7 separate regions of the Homo sapiens genome follow, and regions 1, 2, 4, 5, 6 and 7 are each linked to region 3. Evidence: promoter capture Hi-C in 16 types of primary human blood cells and fetal thymus (Javierre and others, 2016). All regions are on one chromosome and are shown on one strand. Each heading gives the region's core, a stretch centred on a gene start or on the middle of the fragment in contact. The rest is flanking DNA. Distances are from core to core; before and after follow the strand shown. Region 1 holds the start of NR1D2 (nuclear receptor subfamily 1 group D member 2). Region 2 overlaps HACL1 (2-hydroxyacyl-CoA lyase 1). Region 3 holds the start of SGO1 (shugoshin 1). Region 4 holds the start of OXNAD1 (oxidoreductase NAD binding domain containing 1). Region 5 overlaps LOC107986064 (a long non-coding RNA gene). Region 6 has its middle 3.2 kb from the start of CAPN7. Region 7 overlaps NR1D2 (nuclear receptor subfamily 1 group D member 2).

Region 1 (2,700 bases), core at 122-2,621, 3.8 Mb before region 3:
TCACCTGAGTCATCCTGACCATACGTGAGCTGCACGCTCAGCTGCGGGTGTGACCCGTTTACTGGAAAACTCCAGCCCGAAGGGATCTGGAAGCAGTTTTTAAGACTGTGTGTGTATGAGACAGGTCGCGTCCTAGAGCAAACGGTTTTTTTTGTAAACAGACGGCATCCTAACAGGGGCGGTGCTACCCAGTCTGCGGGGAGTCGCTCGGGATCGAAGCACCTCAGAGCTCCTTCGAGCGTATCCCTTCGGGAAAGCCCCACGCCTTCCCCGAGGCGCCTCCTCCGGCCTGCAGCACGCCCTCGTCCTGCACTTCCTCCTCGGAATCTGCAAGGTATGCAGCTACCAGCCTCCCCAGGCGCCGGTTCGTTTGGTTTGCGCGGGGTCCGCGCCTTGGGGTCACCTCGCGAAAAGAGCGTGCGGCGTCCGGTGCACTGCGGTGTCAGCGCCCGCTTCGGGGACGCCCCGCCGCGGGGGCTCAGCGGGCGCGCACGCGCGGCCTCCTCCGCAGTGTGCAACCCCGCGGGGGAGGAGGGAATCGCGGCGACGTCACTGCCCCGAGGCTTCCAAAGGGGCGGAGCCTCCCGGGAGGCTGCGGCGCTCCCAGCCAGCGCGCGCGCGCGCGCCCCCGCCCCCACGTGTCCCTGCGGCCCCGGGGAATGTGGGTCAGGGAGCCGAGCGGCCTCACGTGTCCCCGCCCGCCGCCGCCGCCTCAGCGCCCATTATGTAATGCCGCGTCACGCGCCCGCCCAGCCAACCGGCGCCCGCGCGCCGCCGAACGTAAACACAGCGCGCACGTGGCTCGCGCGGCCGGGCCATGTGAGGGGGGGGCCGGGCCGGGCGCCGGCAGGCCGCGCTGCGGCTTTGCAGGGAGACAAGAGGGCGGGCGCCGGGCGGCCCGGGGGGCGATGGGAACCGAGCCAGAGGCGGACACGCGGCGCGCAGCAGCCCACCCCGCCCCACCGGCCATGGGGACACCCCCTGCCGCCGCCCCCCAAAGTGCCCCGCGGGCTCTGAGCGCTCCCTCCGGCCATCCCCCACCCGCCGCAGTCCGGTTCTTACCTGCATTCACCTCCATGGTGCCCTCGCGGAGGCGGCCGGGGCCGCCCGCTTCCCGCAGAGGGGGCAGCGCCGCCGCCGCCGCCTCAGCGCCGCGCCGCCCCGGGCTGGAAGCAGCGGTGGTCGCGGGGCCCCCTCATGGGCAGAGCGGGCGGGGCTCCCGGGCCCCAGGCCGTGCAGCGCACAGCAGGCTGCAGCGAGAGAGGGTGGCGGCGGCCGGCGAGCGGCGCTCCTCGCTGGGTCCCTGACAACAAAAGCGGCGGCGCGGCGGCTTCCTGCAGCCAGCGCACCGCGGCGGCGAGGGCGGCTGACGGGGAGGGCAGCCGCGACCATGTGACCCGCGCACACACCCCCTCCCTCCGCCCGCCCTCGGCCGGCCGCTGCGGCGACCTCCGCCCCGCCGCTCCCCTCCCTCCCGCCCGCTTCCCGGCTCCCCGGCTACCCTTTTCTCCTGCGCTTCCCCCTTCTCCCCTTCCTTCTCCTTGCCGAGCCCCTCCTCTTCCTTCGTTTTTCCCCTCCGTGCCGTAAACCTCTTCTCCGTTTCCCTCCGCCGCATATTCCTCCCCTCCTCCTCCTCTTTCCTCTCCTCCCGGCTGCCTTTCCCGCCTCTGGCCGGGAGTCCTCTCCACGCCCTGCCCCCCAACCTGGTGGCTCTTAGGTCAAAGCGGTGGCTTGGCGCCGAGCAAGGGTGATTCTCAGGACCCCGGCTGGGCCGGCTGGTTCGGGCTTGCTCAACCCTTGCGCCCCCCACCCCCACCCCCCGCTCCCACCCGACCGACCTCCAAACGCTGGTCTCTGAGGGCACAGACCCTTCCCTTTCCCTCTGCACCCTCTAGGTGATTTTATCCAATCTCATAGCTTAAGTAGACCTATGTTCTTGTGATTCCCAGATTTATATTTCAAGCCAAGACCTCTCTTCTAATCTCCAGATTCCTACATCCAGCAGCCCGTTTGATTATGCCGCTTTTTTGCATCTCAGATTTTAGACGGGTGTACGCGTGTGTCCGAACTCAGCTAATGTGCAGTCAAGATCTGGGCGTTTCACCTTGAATGTAAATTTTAGATCAAAAGAAAAAAGCTAGACATAAATTGTATGCGTGCTGAGGTGAATTCTGAGGAAAGTGCATTGATGCCCGCAATTTAAACGCATTACTGAAGTAAGATGGGCTGATAGAGGCATGAATAGATGATATGGTAAGATGTTAAACTTAGGCGATGGGGATATGGGTGTTGCTTGTAAAACTCTTTCCAGTTTGCTCTGAAATTCTTCACTATAGAAGGTGGGGAAAATGTCACGTGGAAGACATATTTACATGTGCAACACCCTATTTCCCCACCCCCCAGGTTTCTTCACCATATCAATATTTACTGTTTTGGTAAATCTGCAAGTTCCTGAAGCCAGCAAAATTATGTTTCTCTCCTAACACTCTCACAGCCTTTTATTCTCCATTCAATCCATTAGCAAGTCTGAGCTATTCTACCTTCAAAATATGTTCAATCCCTGTTTCTCACCGTTGGTATTGCTAGAGCAAACCATTATCTCTTGCCTCAGCTACTGCTCTGGTTCCCTAACTAGGAGAGTGCTTCTTGGGTCCTCCTACAGTCACTTCTCCCCAGCAGTCAAAGTATTATTTTTAAAAT
Region 2 (2,700 bases), core at 6-2,505, 4.6 Mb after region 3:
TTGAACCTGGGAGGTGGAGGTTGCCGTGAGCCAATATTGCATCATTGCACTCCAGCCTGGGCAACAAGAGCGAAACTCCGAAACTCTGTCTCAAAAAAAAAAAACAAAACAAAACAAAATAAAACAAAACAAAACAGTTACCTCTCAACTTTTGACATTTCCTACCAGAGGAATATACTTTTTGTTACGTGTTGTTGTATATTTTGCATTGCCTAGCAACATTTCTTACCTAGCTATCATAAGTGGGCAATTCTTTTGGGTGTCTAAATAAAGTGTTCTTATTGCAGCAGGTATTTACATGCCTGCATTTCTTAGGAGTTGTCTTATTCTCCTAATGTGAATTTGGCCTTATGTGCAAAAGGAAAGAGAGATGGGGCCAGTAGAGAATAGCGACACAGGAAAAGAGCAGAGTCTTTGTGCAGGTTCTCAGTGGGTGTATGATAGTAGAGCCAGTTAAGATTATGATCCATAAACATTTCCTTTTTTTTTTTTTCCACATTTATGTCGTTAATGTGGAGTTCTTTAAGACAGTATACTACTTCATTTAAAGCTGAATGAAGGCTAGGAAATACGCAATTCATTATTATTTCTAAAGAAATGAGAAGAAATAATACTGGGAAAAAAATGATGTCCCAGACTAAGAAGAATTTGAGAGAGCACTCAGCATTTTCCCAGGTTATCTTGTGTGCATTTAATTTAGTGCCCCCTCTCTTCCTGATTATGAGCTGAAGTAGAGTTACAAGGTAAAAACTATCCATATGCAGGCCATAAAGGAAATCTCAATAAATCGCCAAGGATTGAAAGCGTGCAGTATATGTCACCTGACCATGTGGAAGTAAAGTGGAACTCAATAAGAGATCACTAAAAAGAATCTCAGACCTTTGGAAATTAAGCAACATACTTTTTGGTATTTTGTAAATATTTGAAAAGATTAACAAAATGAATAAACTTCAAGATAGACTGATTGAGAATAAAAGAGAAAACAGATTACCAATGTCAGGAATGAAAAAGGAGGTATCACTACAGATCCTAATTAACCAATGGGTTGAAGAAGAAATCACAATGGAAAGTAGAAAATATTTTGAATAGAATGATAATGAAAAGATGCAACTCAAACTTGTAACCTATAACTAAAGCAGTTCTTGGAATCATTTTAAACAAATTATTAGTAAAGAAAATTAAAAACCAGTGTTCTAAATTTGTATTTTAAGAAGCTAGAAAAAGAAAAGCAAATCAAATTCAAAATGACTGAAATAATAAATACAAGAACAGAAATCAATGAAATAGAAAACAAACAATAGAGAAAAACCAACAAAAATTTTCGAAGAACTAAAAAAATTTGTTCTTTGAAAAGATGGATAAATTTGATAAACCCCTCATGAGACTGATGAAGAATAAAAGAAAGAAAACAAATTACCAATATTGTTAATAAAAGAGGACATTCCTATTGATCCTGCAGATATTTAAGCAATTGTAAGAGGATGTTTTGAATAACATACATATGAACAAATTTCCTGAAAAACTAAAATTTAGATAACCATTATTTGAAATTTATGTGTAGAACATTTATTACTAAGGTTGGAAATATTTTAATTCTGCCTTTACCACTATGTTCTTGTCTATTATTTAATAGTAAGTTGCTGTCATAAATGTACTATAAGGATCCCAATATGCTCAAGTCCCAGTGTTGTTTTCTCGTAGGCTTGTTATGCTGCCTCCGCGATTGGATATCTGACAAGCAGGTAAACTAAAATTTGTTTCACTTCAATTACTTTAATATTTTGGGGTAGAACTATTACGTCTTTCAGCTGAAGGATGAGTTCATTTGGAAAGATTATAGAAAAATATATTAAATAACAAAGGATAAAAAACATTTAAAACTCTCTGAGGACCACATCAAAAGAATAATGATACCAGAAGTGTTTCAGAGTGGAACACATTGCCATTTTGTAGAGTGAATCACTGGTGATCAGATAGTGAGTTGATGTATGATACCTTGTCTTGGATCTCACAACTACCCCAGCACACTTAATACAAAAATGCTTGGTTCAAAATGTGACTGTTGAGAGCTGTTCCACACGTTCTGATTTTTTAGTGTGTATCCATGTTACCTAACTACCACCCCCTTTTTATTATTAAAAATTAATACATTTTTAAAATGTCCATTTTGGAAAACTTGGAAAATATAGAAAGCACAAAGAAGAAAATGAAAATCGACTAGGCACGGTGGGTCACGCCTGTAATCCCAGCACTTTGGGAGGCTGAGGCAGGTGGATCACCTGAGGTCAGGAGTTTGAGACCAGCTTGGCCAACATGGTGAAACACCATCTCTACTAAAAATACAAAAATCACCCTGGTGTGGTGGCATGCGTCTGTAATCCCAGCTACTCGGGAGGCTGAGGCAGGAGAATCGGCTTGAACCCAGGAGGCGGAGGTTGCAGTGAGCTGAGATTGCGCCACTGCACTCCAGCCTGGGTGATAGAGTGAGACTCCGTCTCAAAAAAAAAAAAAAAAAAAAAAAGGAAAAAAGATGAAGAAAATCACCTATGATCTCAGAACTGTTAAGAATTGGTCATTTTCTTCCAGTTTTTTCCCTTATCTATGTATTTTTTAAGCAGAATTTGGACTCTCACAGGAATGTGTATCATACTTTTTTCACATATGTTAGTTTTAATACATTTTTTTATTTCCAAAAATGAA
Region 3 (2,700 bases), core at 37-2,536:
TTGTTTCGTTTTCATTTATTTGTTCCTTTATTGTCCCAGTGAATATTTACTACTTACTTCAAATTGCAACGAGATGCTGACAATTTAGCTATGAACAAAGCAGATGTAGTTCCTGCCCTTATTCAACTTCAAGAAACAGGCAATGAACGACAAGTCAGTGTCACAAGGAATACCAAGGGGAAAATGCAGGGCACTAAGAAAGTGTAAAGCAGACACTCAGGGGCTTTAGGGGTAGATAAGTCTTTCTGGAAGAATTCATCTGTACAGTGAAACTTCAGTATACATAGGAGTAAGTTCGGCCAAGGGAAAGAGTGTTCTTGACAGAACAGCATTGGCAAAAGTGGCAAGAATTTTAAGAAAATTAAAGAAAATGTACAAGTGATGGAACCAGGAATCATGGGGCTCTTTAAGGACAAAATATCTTAAAGGAGTTTGAAATTCACCTTAAATGCAATAGGGAGCCATTGTAAAGTTTCCTATTTGATACTTGTTTTGTAAAAATATTAATCTATGAAGAATATAGGGAGTGGAGTCTGCGGTCAGAGTGGGTACTAGTGCAATTTAGGGAATGAGATTAGGCTGGAAGCTGGATTGGGGGGAAAAAGATGGGCATGAGAGAAACTTGGAAAGCAGAGTTGAGAAGATCGTGTGACCGACTGGACGGGCAAAGGTTAAGAGAGGATAAATAATCATTAAGGACGATTTCTCAGGCTTCTAGTCGGTAACTGGATGGATGTTGGTGCCATTTCTCGAGAAGAGTTAAAGAGCCAGAGATAGCCGGCAAAGAGAAACATGGAGCTAGAATTTTCAGGTATCTGCAGTTTCCCTAATACCTTTTTAATCCAGAATTTGCTCCTTGTTTTGGTTTTAATTCCTCTAAAAGCTGCTTCCGTGTTGCAAGCTGGCTGACCGCTTTAACAGGCAACCAAAGAGATTCTTCTCACAAGAGGGAGGCTTTGAGCACAACCCGGGACATTTGAAGCTGTCAGACTGAAGAAACAGGAAGCTTTGAACTACCTATCACACTCGGCCTTAAAGGTTTCGGAGTAACTCCACCCGTAAAATCCCCACGACTCTGATTAGAAAGTCCCGGCGGGTCGCCGAGACCCGACCGCAGGCTCCGCCCCAGGGCCAGGTGGATGCCCGGATGTGGACTTGAGCGAATGTGCGTCACGTGACGTCGCCTGGCGGGGCGGGACTCTGCCTGCGACGGTGGTGTTGGGTGCATCCTGCGCCACGTGACCGCCTCCCAGCCAACCAATGGAGGAGCGAGGCGGAAAATTTCGAATGTGGCGGCGGTAGTTCCAGGCGACGGCGGACGGTGGTACGGTCCTGGAGGGCCCAGTGCGCGGGGCTAGCCGTGGCTGGAGAGCTTCGAAGAGCCTTGAAATGTGAGGAGGAGGAAGATAGCTGTTGCAGAAGTAGTGGCCAAGGTATCGTTCTGGACGCGCCTGCGGCAGGAGGGTCGCCGCGTCCACTTCCGCCAGCCCCACCTCCCCCCGGCCTTCCTGGAGTCCCTGAAAGAGGAAGAAGTAGGTTTTAAGGTGCGAAACAAGGGCGTAGTGATCCCTGTTTGACTTCCCTTCGGTTTTCAGTATCATTCTAAATTCGGTGGCCGAAAGCTCGGGCCGTGGAGTCCCACTCGCCGCGCTTTTCGCCGTTCAGCCACTCGATCTGCGCTTTCAGATGTTCCGGCTTCCATGGAGACCCTAATTTCCTACTTTGCAAAATTGTGTAGATTAAGTGATGTGCAAATAAAGCTTTTACAATAGCTAAAAGCCTGGCTCAACGTAAGGACACAAGAAAATTGACAGCAGTTCTTTGTGCAGCGTGATACCGTTGACGTCCTCCTTGTCCAGGCCATTCTCTTCCTCACTTACCCTGGAGAGGCCGGCACTGACTAGTATCCTACCTGGCTGTCTTCGCAGCAGGACTAATTGGAGAATTATGGACGGAGATCAAATATGCTAGGTTCTTTAAATCCAGAGCGCTTACACGAGTACTGTACAGATTGAGACCGTCATCTCGCGCTGTGGTCTGTCTTTGCTTTCATCCCTTCTGTCTACCACACCCCCTGCTAATAACCATCGCCTTATTTAGACAGGATATAAAACTTTTGATATGGCAAGTTTCTTTTGTGATTTTTAACTTGATTAAAAGTAATAACGAAAGCTTTTTAGGTAAGGCTTTGCCTTTAAAATACCTTAACTAAACTAGATCCGTTACTTAATCTGTATGACTCTCAAACATCTCCAATTCTAACTTAATTGTGTAAAACAACCCCTTTACCGTTCGTGCTTTTAAAAATAGCTACCCTATCTCTGCTAGGAACCTCCCAGTACATATTGTATATACCTTGGTAGAAAGAAAGTTCTTAAGTGGTATCTACAATACCTATATTTAAGATTCCAGACACTGCATAGAGGAAAATAAGGCCTGGAGGAAATACTCAAGATTAAGTGTAAGGTTTAGGAAAATATTTGACTATCGTAGAGGAGATGAAGATATCCTTTGTAGTGAAAATTCTGTGCATAGATTGTTATTGGAAACAAGTCTTTTTTTTTTGCAATTTTAAGATCTGCAAAGTGCAATCTAGCGTAAAAGATGTTTGTGAAAAGTGGTTTGACATGTTTAGTAGCATGCTAAAGCCTACCTGATTTGCAACGTTGAAAGATTAAGTATAGTTATGTATTTAATACT
Region 4 (2,700 bases), core at 30-2,529, 3.9 Mb after region 3:
GCTGGGATTACAGGCACACCACCACACCTGGCTAATTTGTGTATTTTTTAGTAAAGACGGGGCTTCATCATGTTGGTCAGGCTGGTCTCGTATTCCTGACCTCGTGATCCGCCCTTTTAGGAATAAATGTAAAGTTTAGTAGTCATTGTAATGTTTTCTTCAAAAGTGCACAGGGATATATTATGTATATGTGTTACGTAAATGTAAACTAAATGTTATATATCATTGCTGAACCAAGTAAAGCTCATAATTTCCGTGCAAAAGTGGAACATTACATCTAAAAAGGATCTTATATCATCTCTACTCCAATCCTTTCTTAGAAGAGGAAATAAGGCCCAAAGAATGTAAATATCCAGTTGCCAGAGGTAATCAACAACTCAAGATTCCGATCCCAGATCTTCTCTCGAAAGTGCTTTTTCACTACAATGCATTTCTTCTCTACTAAGATATTAAAATGCCTAGTAATTAAGTAAGACCCAATGTAATCGGTTTTACCAAAACAGGCACTAGCACTGCTTTCAAGACAAAAATGCCTTTTATCTGCATTTCGCTTCAAGGCATACATAGGCCTCACACTGATAAACCTGCCTACTGACACCATTTCTTTCACAACGAAAAAACTGGTACTCACATAAGTAATTTGTTCCTGGGCTTTGGAGACAGACAAGCTCTTCATTATTTCCCAGGTGTATGATTTTAGTCAAGATGCCCAACTCTCTGTACCTCAGTTTAAAGATTAATAAAATGGAATAACATGTAAACTCCTAGAGTTGACAATTCCACTTAGTGCAATAGCTGGCACATAACTTCCCAATAATAAAAGGTGATGTTATTACTATTACTAAAAATCATCGTCGTTAATAATGTTATAAGCCTGGCAAACAGAAGACTAGAACTCAATCCCTGCCTTCCAGGGCTTGGTCCTTTCAGCAACACAATTTAGGGTATTTTAAGGCGTCTGGGGTGAGGAAGAAGCGGAATGTACCTGCAGCCAGGAATTAACAAGCTGACCGTCGCCCTGGGCTCAAGGTCACTCGGTGAAGCGAAATTCTACGGGAACTGTTCGTCCGTCACCAGGAAGGGAGGTCGAGGAGGCTAAGCTGCTCTCGCCTCCCCACCCCGCCTTTCCCGAGGGCCGGGAGGCTGCTACCTAGCACCTGCTGCAGCCTTCAGCGGGCTATTTAAGGCGTTAAAGCAGACGATAAGAAGCAGGGAAACTTTCCCCGCTGGCACCTAGCTTGCAGACCCGGCCACGTTTAGTTGCAGGCGCCTGGAATACTCCGCGGTCCCAGACGTGACGTAGCAGCGCGGGCGAGCCCCACATTCTATTGGTCGCTGCCGCCCAATAGGAGGAGCGGTGCGCGACCCCGCTGAGCAAGCTTTCAGTCTTCCCAGTGTCTCCGCCCCTAGTTCAGCCATCTCCATGGTGACCGCTACCGGTTATCCATTTGGCCGCGCAGGGCGGAGTTGCGTCATTGCCTATGCGCCGGAAGGGCTAGTCCTTGCCCGGCGCGACCTGATGATGCCGAGCCCAGGCCGGTTCCGGCGAAGTTAAACCCTCGGAGCTGGCCTCGGACTGCTGGGGCGTTACCCCTTCGGCCACCCCCGCTGACCATGGCAGTGTTTCATGACGAGGTGGAAATCGAGGACTTCCAATATGACGAGGACTCGGAGACGTATTTCTATCCCTGCCCATGTGGAGATAACTTCTCCATCACCAAGGTAACTTCAGGGTCCCGCCCGGCGGTTCACCCAAGCAAGCGCAGTTTGGTTCCGCCCGTTCCTTCCATCATTGGGTAGCCTTTGCTGCGCTGTGTCACCCACGCCCTCTTTCCCGTTGCTGAATCTTCCTCCTCCCGCGTCCCCCCACCCCAACTAATGCCCTGAGCTCTCTCGGTAGGCACGCAGTTCTGGCCTTAGATTAGGTCAGGGAGAGGGTGGCGGAGAGCCTCTGTCTCTCTGCCCGATCCCTGCCTTAGGGTCCCAACCTGGGATATTTCTGTCGAGGAGGGGACTCGTTTTTTGTTTCCCAGGGCTTTTGGGGCGACCGAAGCTCGCCTGACCTTCCTAGGTGTTTCCCCTAAGTGACGCTTCTAGGGGAAAATGATGTCGGCATTTCTCGCTGAAGGCCCTGGGGTTCTCACCCACCTTGGGGGGAAGGCAAGCCACCAAGAGACTTGCATCTAGGGGTGGGATAGGTTTGGGGGAGGAGATGGCGAAGAGAAGCTATCCTGACCACATGGTATTTGATTTCGTTGTAGGAAGATTTGGAGAATGGGGAAGACGTGGCAACGTGTCCTAGCTGCTCTCTCATTATAAAAGTGATTTATGACAAAGTAAGGGATATAATTTTAAAACGGGGGAAGGGTATTGTAAGTCAGTGGCAAGGACTTAGATCAGCTTGTCAGTGATGAGTGCAGGAGAATGTTTCATTGTGCTAGGTAAAGTGCGGTATTTTTTTAGGCAGGTTTTAAACACCATTGATAAACAGCCGAATAGTAAATTAAAACGTTTAAAGTTCAGATTACGTAATTTATTTTAGCTTTAGAGATAAATCTAGCTTTAGTGAAAATTATTATTTATTAAATAGAAAGTATATAGATTATTTTAGTGGACAATTTTTTATATTTCTCTTCTATTTAATATGTAATTAAAATTGTTTAGAGCTGCTAGACTTACTTTGAAGGGAACAATTGTATG
Region 5 (2,700 bases), core at 82-2,581, 4.3 Mb after region 3:
TTCTGCCTCCCAGGCTGAAGTGATTCTTGTGCCTCAGCCACCCAAATTATTGGTATTACAGGCACGCACCACCACATCTGGCTAATTTTTGTATTTTTAGTAGAAACAGGCTTTGGCCACATTGGCCAGGCTGGTCTCAAATTCCTGGGCTCAAGTGATCCACCTGTCTTGGCCTCCCAAAGTGCTGGGATTACAGCCATGAGCCACTGTGTCTCGCTGGATTTCAATTTTTTTTCACCAACATAAACTTATATTAACTTGTTATAATGTATCTGAACAGGATACAGTTTGCAGCACTAAGAAGGATAAGACGTCAGTTTGAAAAGAGCCCGTATCAGAACAACATGAATTCTGTTAAAATTGAGGCAAGAACAAACCTCAAGTTTATGGTGAAGCTTGGGTGGAAGAATGGTGAAATCATTGATGCTTTATGAATAGTTTATGGGGACAATGCCCCCTGCCCCCCAAAATAAGCAGTTTACAAATGGATAACTCATTTGAAGAAGGGACAAGACGATGTCAAACATAAAGCCCACAGTGGCAGACCATCCACATCAATTTGTGAGGAAAATATCTTGTTTGTATCCTAATTGAAGAAGACTGACGATTAACCGCACAAACAAGAGCCAACACCACAGACATCTCAATTGGTTAAGCTTACATAATTCTGACTGAAAAATTAAAGTTGAGCAAACTTTCAACTCAATGGGTGCCCAAACCATTGGGCCCAGATCAGTTTCAGGCAAGAGAAAGGCTGTCAATAGAAATTTTAAACAAGTAGGGTCAAGACCCTAAAACACTCGTACACTTCTTCAAAGAATTCTAACAGATGAAACATGGCCTTACTATTATGATCCTGAAGACAAAGCACAATCAAAGCAATGGCTACCAACAGGTGGAAGGGTCCAGCCAAAGCAAAAGCAAATCAGTCAAGAACAAAGGTCTTGGCAACAGTCTTTTGGGATGTTCAAGAGATTTTGCTTGACTTTCTGGAGGGACAATGAATGATAACATCTGCTTATTATGAAAGTATTTTTGAGAAAGTTAGTAAAAGCTTTAGCAGGAAAATGTTCAATAAAGCTTCACTAGAGAGTCCTTCTCCAACATAATGCTCCTGCTCATTCCTCTCATCAAACAAAGGCAATTTTGTTAGGATTTTGATGGAAACCCGTTAGGCATCCACCTCATACTCCTAATTTGGCTCCTTCTGACTTATTTTTGTTTCCTAATCTTAACAATTCTTTAAAAGGCATGCATTTTTCTTCTGTTATTAACATTACATTATTACTGTAAAAAAGACTGCATTGACATGAATTCCCAGGACCCTCGGTTCTTTAAGGATGAACTAAATGGCTGGTATCATTGCTTATCATCTTGAACTTGACAAATCGTATGTTGAGAAATAAAGTTTATATTTCAATTTTAACCTTTAATTCTATTTCCCACAAACATTTGAAGTACCCTGTAATTGCTGTCATAATAATAATATAGTGTAATGGTCCTTCAGAGTTTTCCACAGCCTTTCATATCACTATCTTATCTGATGGTGTGAGATGAGTAGGCCAGGAAATGTTAAGCTTAGTTTTTTTATGAATGTTGAAACTGAGACACAGAGAAGTTAAATGGTGCTCATGGTGCAGAAGGGTGAGAACCCAGCTAGGTGTGAAGCATCATCTATAAGGAGAGCTCCATGCCTACTATAATGCAGATGGTACATCATAAAACATTTTCATTAATTACTGTTAATTAGAAAATTTCAAAAGAGTCCTGGAAAGTTTCATTAGCTTCAATCACAAAATCTATTAAAATGCATATTTAGTCCATAAATTCATACTCTCAAACACACTTACATTCTCCCAAAAAATCATCTTTGCCATGTTCCTAATCAGGTTCTCATTGTGTTTTTAAATTCTAGAAATTTAACCTAGAGGAGAGATTATTTGGTGGGAAGAGGAGGGCTATATTAATTCCTGGCTCAACATCCATAGTGCTTAACAGGCTTACTTATAAATGAGGGTAAATCCTAACACTCCTAGGCCAAGATAGAACACGACTGGATATGGCACATTGGTAATTATTTACAAAGCTAACTTGTAATCACAAAGTACTGTAGTAATATTATCACAACATCTTTGTTTTGGAGAACTCAAGTGCTTTCACGACATTAACTCATTCACCCTCACTGAACTGATAAGGAGGGGTTGGGTGACAAATAGTATCTCTATTTTATCTGCTGGAGTTGAAATAAAGGGTAAAGGAGCTACTGAAGAGAATGCAAAGCAAGAGCAGTTTGATTTCCTTTTTAGCCTCATTATGACGGTTAGATCACAGTTATGAGAATTCCTCCATTTTAAGTAGAAAATATCATGACGAGGGACATAATTTTAGGTAAGAAATTGTTTCAATGGAACCATAGCATGGATATCTCAAAGAATATTGGAAGGGTCGTACTATCAGTTAATCAGGTGTGTTTTTTTATCTTGCACTCTATTTTCTTTTTTTTTTTTTTTTTTGCGTGGCTAAATCTAAGTTTTTTGTTATAAGTGCAGCATTACAATAATCTGATAGTCCTGACGAAGATCTCCATTTCTCTAGACTGCCATTAGGCTCGAATCGATTCTCTAAAGTCCATCCCAAGAGACACAACTGATGTAGTGGGTAGAAGAGACTTTTAAAAACCGACCCTGACGTCACACGTTT
Region 6 (2,700 bases), core at 1-2,500, 5.0 Mb after region 3:
TGTATTCTGTGATCATCAATTATCCAAAAAACTCTGAGAACTTGGTGGTGGAGACTCACGACATGTGCCTTTGTGGAATGCCTGCCAGAATGTCCAGTACCACCTCCACCTTAGGCCAGCTCTGTGACAGTGGAATTTGTCCAATGTTAAGCACTCAGAGCTGCATAGTCAACATGTCGTCATCCTGCAGCTTGGGAGCCCTCCCCCACCGAGAGCTGAGACAGACATAGAGAGGGATGAGACCTGGAGACAGACATTGAGAGGGCACTGGTCTGCACACACCCCTGCTCAGGAAGCTCCTTGTTGGTTTTTTTTTTCCCTTTGGTTAAATGGCTATTGCTATTGACTGTTGAATTCCTTGGCCTGTCCTACAAATGTCAGAAACAGCAGAGCATAGTTTTGAAATTTAGACTTGCAGGGAGCTTATAATCTGCATATAATTACATATGGAATCTATTAAGATTATATTTAATTCTATATATTTTAAATATGTATATAAAATTAAGTTAGGATATGTGTGTATATAAAATTCTACTGTAGGTGAAAAAGATGTTATTACCCTTTTTAAAGCTGCCAACCAAATGATGGTAGTTTATTATTTCATTAAATACATATGCAAAATTCTGTTGGCCAGGCACTGGAGGTAAAGACAGCTCACACTGTGGTGAGCAAGACATTCAGCAGCCAACAGTTAAAAGCATCATTTAATAATTGCTAAAAGAGAGAAGGCAGAGGCTGGGAGGAGCACTACCTAAATCAGCTTGGGGAGTCTAACACAGTGTTCCAGAAGAAAGGTGGCTTGAGTTGAGTCCCAAAGGCAGAATAAGAGCAAAGCAGGAGAGGAAGAGATGGATGTTTCAGTCTCAACTAGAGGCAGGAGTGTTGAGGTCCGTGTATTTTGAGGATTGGGATTCACTGGGTGTGGCTGTGGGAAGAGATGGAAAATGAGACTTTAGAGCTGTGCTTCTCACATTTAGCTGCTTTGGAACCACCCAGGGATCTGATTATATATAGGTTTCTGGGCTCCATCCTAGAATGCCTGGGTCAGTAGGGTTGGGCAGGGCCTGGGAATCTGCATTTCTGCAGATTCTGACAAGTGATGCTGCTGGTGCAGAGACCACACTTTGAGAACCACTGCTCTAGATTTAGAAGGGAGTCACTGAAAGCTTAAGGCCCGTTCCCAGTCAAGTCTCTTGACCATGGCTTCATGGCCTTGAAATTCAGCACTCAGGGGAAGAGTGGATCATGCTAAGGACAGCAAAGACAGGGGTGAGTTAAATTCCCTCCCTGCAGTCCCATCTCTGCTGTGCTGGATCCCTGGCCTTGAAGCTTCCTTCCTTCTTAGTTTTTTCCCCTGTGACCCTCTAGGACACATGCTATGTTGCTGTTGGTCTTTGGTAGTTGCCCTCTCTCACAGTTGGGTGGGACAAGTCATCCTATTTACTACAGATCCTCACCAACTGTGCTGGGTTTATGCAGATTCCTGAGAGCACACTGTCACCTTGTGTTCATATGTGGCACTGCAGCTAGGTGTTACCTCATAGGGGCTTGTGGTCACAACTTTATCCTTTCAACAAACATTTCATTAAAATATCTACCATGGCCGGGTGTGGTGGCTCACACCTGTAATCTCAGCACTTTGGGAGGCCGAGGTGGGTGGATCACCCGAGGTCAGGAGTTCGAGACCAGCCTGGCCAACATGGCAAAACTTCATCTCTACTAAAAATACAAAAAATTAGCCAGGTATGGTGGCAGGTGCCTGTAATCCCAGCTACTTGGGAGGCTGAGGCAGGAGAATTGCTTGAACCAGGGAGGCATAGGTTATAATCCCAGCACTTTGGGAGGCTGAGGCAGGTGGATCACCTGAAGTCAGGAGTTCGAGACCAGCCTGGCCAACATAGTGAAACCTTGTCTCTACTAAAAACACAAAAAATTAGCCAAGCATTTTGGTGGGCGCCTGTAATCCCAGCTACTCAGGAGTCTGACACAGGAGAATCGCTTGAACCCAGGAGGCGGAGGTTGCAGTGAGCCGAGATCACGCCATTGCACTCCAGCCTGGGCAACAAGAGCGAAACTCCATCTAAAATAAATAAATAAATATCTACCATAATCCCTGAAGAGCACAATAATTTTCAAGTCCAGGGCTCTCTGGGGCTCTTTAGAGATAACAGCACCATCCCTGAGGCAAGGTATGGAGCAAATTTGAGAAGCAAATTTTAGGAAGAAGTGAGTTGGGGCAGTTACTACTAGCTCTAGACAGTTCAAGGGAACGTAGGTCCAATATATTTTTTTAAATCAAGAGAAGCCAGAAATTTAAATCTTGGTGTAAAAAATACTGACTTTTAAGTAAAAATAAAGTGAAATGTTTTCCCCCTTTTTTTTTTTTTGACAGAGTTTTCACTCTTGTTGCCCAGGCTGGAGTGCAATGGTGCAATCTCAGCTCACTGAAACCTCCGCCTCCTGGGTTCAAGCAGTTCTCCTGCCTCAGCCTCCCAAGTAGCTTGAATTACAGGCATGCGGCACCACGCCCGGCTAGTTTTTTGTATTTAGTAGAGATGGGGTTTCACCATGTTGGTCAGGCTCGTCTCGAACTGCTGACCTCAGGTGATCCACCCGCCTCGGCCTCCCAAAGTGCTGGGATTACAATTGTGAGCCACCACTCCTGGCCAGTGAAATGTTTTTCTAAGTACTAAGAGACAA
Region 7 (2,700 bases), core at 60-2,559, 3.8 Mb before region 3:
GCCTGTAGTCCCAGCTACTCAGGAGGCTGAGGCAGAAGAATCACTTGAACCGGGAGGCGGAGGTTGCAGTGAGCCGAGATCATACCACTGCACTCCAGCCTGGGTGACAGAGTGAGACTCCGTCTCGAAAAAAAAAAAAAGAAAAAAAAGTCACTGCCCATTTATTTCAAAAACAATGCTGTGATCACTGACTTCTACTTGTTCAATCAGGAAACAAGGACTGCAGATACAGGTGTGTCTTCTAAATGACGACTGCGTGAGGGAAAATAGGAAGCCAAGAAGTTATTAAAAAAAAAAAAAAAACACCAAAAAGATGATGAAACACACCTGTATATTCTATTAGTAAAATCAGCCTTTAAATTTTCACTAAATCCATACAAAATCTAGGAATGGGATGATTACAAAACCATAGAGAATATCATGAAATCAGAACCAAAATGCCCACAGATTTTTCCTTCATTAAGGCAGCCACTTGGCCAGGCGTGGTGACTCATGCCTGTAATCCCAGCACTTTGGGAGGCCGAGGTGGGTGAATCACTTGAGGCCAGGAATTCAAGACCAGCCTGGCCAACGTGGTGAAACCTGTCTCTACTGAAAATACAAAAATTAGCCAGGCATGGTGATGCATGCCTGTAATCCCAACTACTTGGGAGGTTGAGGCATGAGAATTGCTTGAACCCAAGAGGTGGAGGTTGCAATGAGCTGAGGTCGCGCCACCGCACTCCAGCCTGGGCAACAGAGCAAGAATGTCTCAAAAAAAAAAACAAAAAAGCAACGACTTAGCCTAACATAAGGTCCACAGAATCAAATAACTCCAAGTGACAACAAAAATTTTAATGAAGATTGAGGTAGAGTCAACTATTTTGAAAATGAAAAAGACGACTTTAATTACCTGTCAGTAGAAAATACCAAGCACTATCAAAGGACTTCATGGTTTAAACTGGAAATGGTGTGGTACTGCTGTTTTTGGTGAAATTTTGGCTGAATATGAACACTGTACTTTGATGTAGAATGTCGTATTTGATGGAAAAATAGAAAAGCTTCAATGATATGACCAACATTAAGTCATCTCATAAGATGAAGTCTGAGAAAATCCTTAGAAATTAGCCTATGAAATTAAAATACTCCTAAATTTATCAAACAATAAAACATCTATGTTCTATATCCAAAGACCTTCTTGCATAATAATGGTTAAAAAAAAAAAAAACCTCTTTCTATAGAAATCAAAGAATTTCTAACTATGGCAAGCGAAAAGTTCGGCCCTTTGAGAAAATCCCAAAGCTAGTAAGGTACTAATTAACCAGAATGCTTAAATTTTCAAAGGGATTTCCAAGAATTAAAGGACCAATTCTGCATGAATCATATTTTACATAAAATCCTAATCCCAATCTCAGATCAATCAAATCACATGCTTGTACCTAGCTGGGTGTGAAATTAGGTCATTCATCAGAAGATGTTTATTAAAATTATTTGACCTAAAATACTGTACAAAATTAAGTCTGTAAATTTCTTAGGTTTCCTGACACCATCCCCCCAAGTTAGCATATCTCCCGAATAAAAGAAAATTTTCAAAGCTTTCCCTGATACAATGTAAGCAAAAAATCGATTTCACTATACCAGATGCATTCTTCCTCCAGTGTTGCACAGGTAACTATTCTTGTTCTCATTCTGAGAAAATCCATCTATCGGAACTCTATCACATACTCTTTGAGTATAAGCATTGGAGAAGTTCATACAATGTCCATTTGCAATACAAATGGCATGACCATTTGGGTAATGCATTATATTCCTCCCTTTGAACTGTCCATTGAGATGCTGCTGGCTCTCACTACAGGGAAAATGGCTGCTAAGCCCATTGCCGCAATGATCATGATTTAAATTATATTGCTCCATGTTCTTGGGAATCCGTTCTCCTCTCTGGGGCTGCATGCTCTCAGCTGAGTTTTCTTGCTGCTCTTGATTATACATAAAGGTATCCTTGTGAGCTCTGGTCACCATGCCAATCACTTCTTCCTTTGCAAAATCAGAAGATGGAGGAGAAGAGCTTTTGATGTTTTCTTGCTCCAGTTGGGGCTTGGGTCGCAGCTGTTCCTGGGCTGGCAAGGCTGTCTGTTCATGATGTTCTACTAATGTGTCATTTTGCAAGTGACCACTGAACTGGCTGTTCATCATGGTCTTCATTGCACTTTGCATTTCAATTAGCATCCTCTGTTTTTCACGCTTAGGAATACGACCAAACCGAACAGCTATTGAAGAAAAAGATATTTAACGTCTATATTCTAAATAAGACCTGTTTTGTATAAAAGAATAACACAAAATTATCCAACAGTTATGGCCTCTAGTCATACATATAAAGAATGAGTCTACATGTCTCTGGTCCACATTTTTCTAAACTTGCTGGTCTTGATGCACCAAAGGAAGTAGGAGAGGGAGAGAAAATTTTCTATTTTCCCCCCACAACAAAGTTAAGGACATCTACCTCCTAGGTATTTTATAAGCAAAGTCTAAGAAAAGAAATAGGAAATTCGGATGGGTGCAGTAGCTCATGCTTCTAATCACAGCACTTTGGGAGGCTGAGGCAGGTGGACCACCTGAGGTCAGGAATTCGAAACCAGACTAGCCAATATGGTGAAACCCCGTCTCTACTAAAAAAACAAAAACTAGCCAGGTGTGATGGCGGGCGCCTGTAGTCCCAGCTAT

What was found. The method cuts DNA at HindIII sites, captures the fragments that hold promoters and counts their contacts. A CHiCAGO score of 5 or more calls a contact.
Region 1: the fragment with the promoter of NR1D2 here is called in contact with the fragment with the promoter of SGO1 in region 3 in 6 of 17 cell types (naive CD8 T cells, naive CD4 T cells, activated CD4 T cells and 3 more); the score reaches 10.5 in naive CD8 T cells.
Region 2: a fragment that was not itself captured here is called in contact with the fragment with the promoter of SGO1 in region 3 in 1 of 17 cell types (fetal thymus); the score reaches 7.4 in fetal thymus.
Region 4: a contact is called between the fragment with the promoter of OXNAD1 here and the fragment with the promoter of SGO1 in region 3, in 4 of 17 cell types (fetal thymus, monocytes, total CD4 T cells and 1 more). The highest score is 14.3, in fetal thymus.
Region 5: a contact is called between a fragment that was not itself captured here and the fragment with the promoter of SGO1 in region 3, in 1 of 17 cell types (fetal thymus). The highest score is 6.5, in fetal thymus.
Region 6: a fragment that was not itself captured here is called in contact with the fragment with the promoter of SGO1 in region 3 in 1 of 17 cell types (fetal thymus); the score reaches 7.7 in fetal thymus.
Region 7: a contact is called between a fragment that was not itself captured here and the fragment with the promoter of SGO1 in region 3, in 2 of 17 cell types (total CD4 T cells and naive CD8 T cells). The highest score is 9.1, in total CD4 T cells.

Annotation. Positions count from the first base shown.
Region 1 is chr3:23,943,957-23,946,656 of GRCh38, reverse strand. NR1D2 (nuclear receptor subfamily 1 group D member 2) reads right to left here and starts at 1,371. Exons shown (of 8, transcript NM_005126.5): 1 at 1,063-1,371. The coding sequence starts at 1,078. LOC124909354 (a long non-coding RNA gene) reads left to right here and starts at 1,477. Exons shown (of 2, transcript XR_007095845.1): 1 at 1,477-2,700. It also overlaps a transcript of NKIRAS1 not described here. RefSeq lists silencers at 280-821, 318-1,507. The HindIII fragment of the contact is 14,696 bases long and covers 1-2,700 here.
Region 2 is chr3:15,595,426-15,598,125 of GRCh38, reverse strand. It overlaps HACL1 (2-hydroxyacyl-CoA lyase 1), which reads left to right. Exons shown (of 17, transcript NM_012260.4): 3 at 1,702-1,742. Among named protein-coding and RNA genes, the nearest start is that of HACL1, 4.8 kb to the left of the region's middle. The HindIII fragment of the contact is 4,835 bases long and covers 1-2,700 here.
Region 3 is chr3:20,184,792-20,187,491 of GRCh38, reverse strand. SGO1 (shugoshin 1) reads left to right here and starts at 1,286. Exons shown (of 8, transcript NM_001199251.3): 1 at 1,286-1,544. It overlaps SGO1-AS1 (SGO1 antisense RNA 1), which reads right to left. Exons shown (of 4, transcript NR_132785.1): 4 at 1,377-1,517. RefSeq lists enhancers at 809-868, 889-1,568. The HindIII fragment of the contact is 754 bases long and covers 1,009-1,762 here.
Region 4 is chr3:16,263,791-16,266,490 of GRCh38, reverse strand. It overlaps OXNAD1 (oxidoreductase NAD binding domain containing 1), which reads right to left and starts at 1,279. Exons shown (of 9, transcript NM_138381.5): 1 at 986-1,279. It overlaps DPH3 (diphthamide biosynthesis 3), which reads left to right and starts at 1,548. Exons shown (of 3, transcript NM_206831.3): 1 at 1,548-1,722; 2 at 2,262-2,336. The coding sequence starts at 1,615. RefSeq lists an enhancer at 1,407-1,716. The HindIII fragment of the contact is 2,642 bases long and covers 1-1,381 here.
Region 5 is chr3:15,860,849-15,863,548 of GRCh38, reverse strand. The region is part of intron 1 of LOC107986064 (a long non-coding RNA gene); the gene reads right to left. Among named protein-coding and RNA genes, the nearest start is that of MIR563, 12 kb to the left of the region's middle. The HindIII fragment of the contact is 497 bases long and covers 1,083-1,579 here.
Region 6 is chr3:15,201,668-15,204,367 of GRCh38, reverse strand. It overlaps the pseudogene COL6A4P1. Among named protein-coding and RNA genes, the nearest start is that of CAPN7, 3.2 kb to the left of the region's middle. RefSeq lists an enhancer at 1,552-1,601. The HindIII fragment of the contact is 163 bases long and covers 1,169-1,331 here.
Region 7 is chr3:23,961,523-23,964,222 of GRCh38, reverse strand. It overlaps NR1D2 (nuclear receptor subfamily 1 group D member 2), which reads right to left. Exons shown (of 8, transcript NM_005126.5): 5 at 1,618-2,246. Among named protein-coding and RNA genes, the nearest start is that of NR1D2, 18 kb to the right of the region's middle. The HindIII fragment of the contact is 534 bases long and covers 1,043-1,576 here.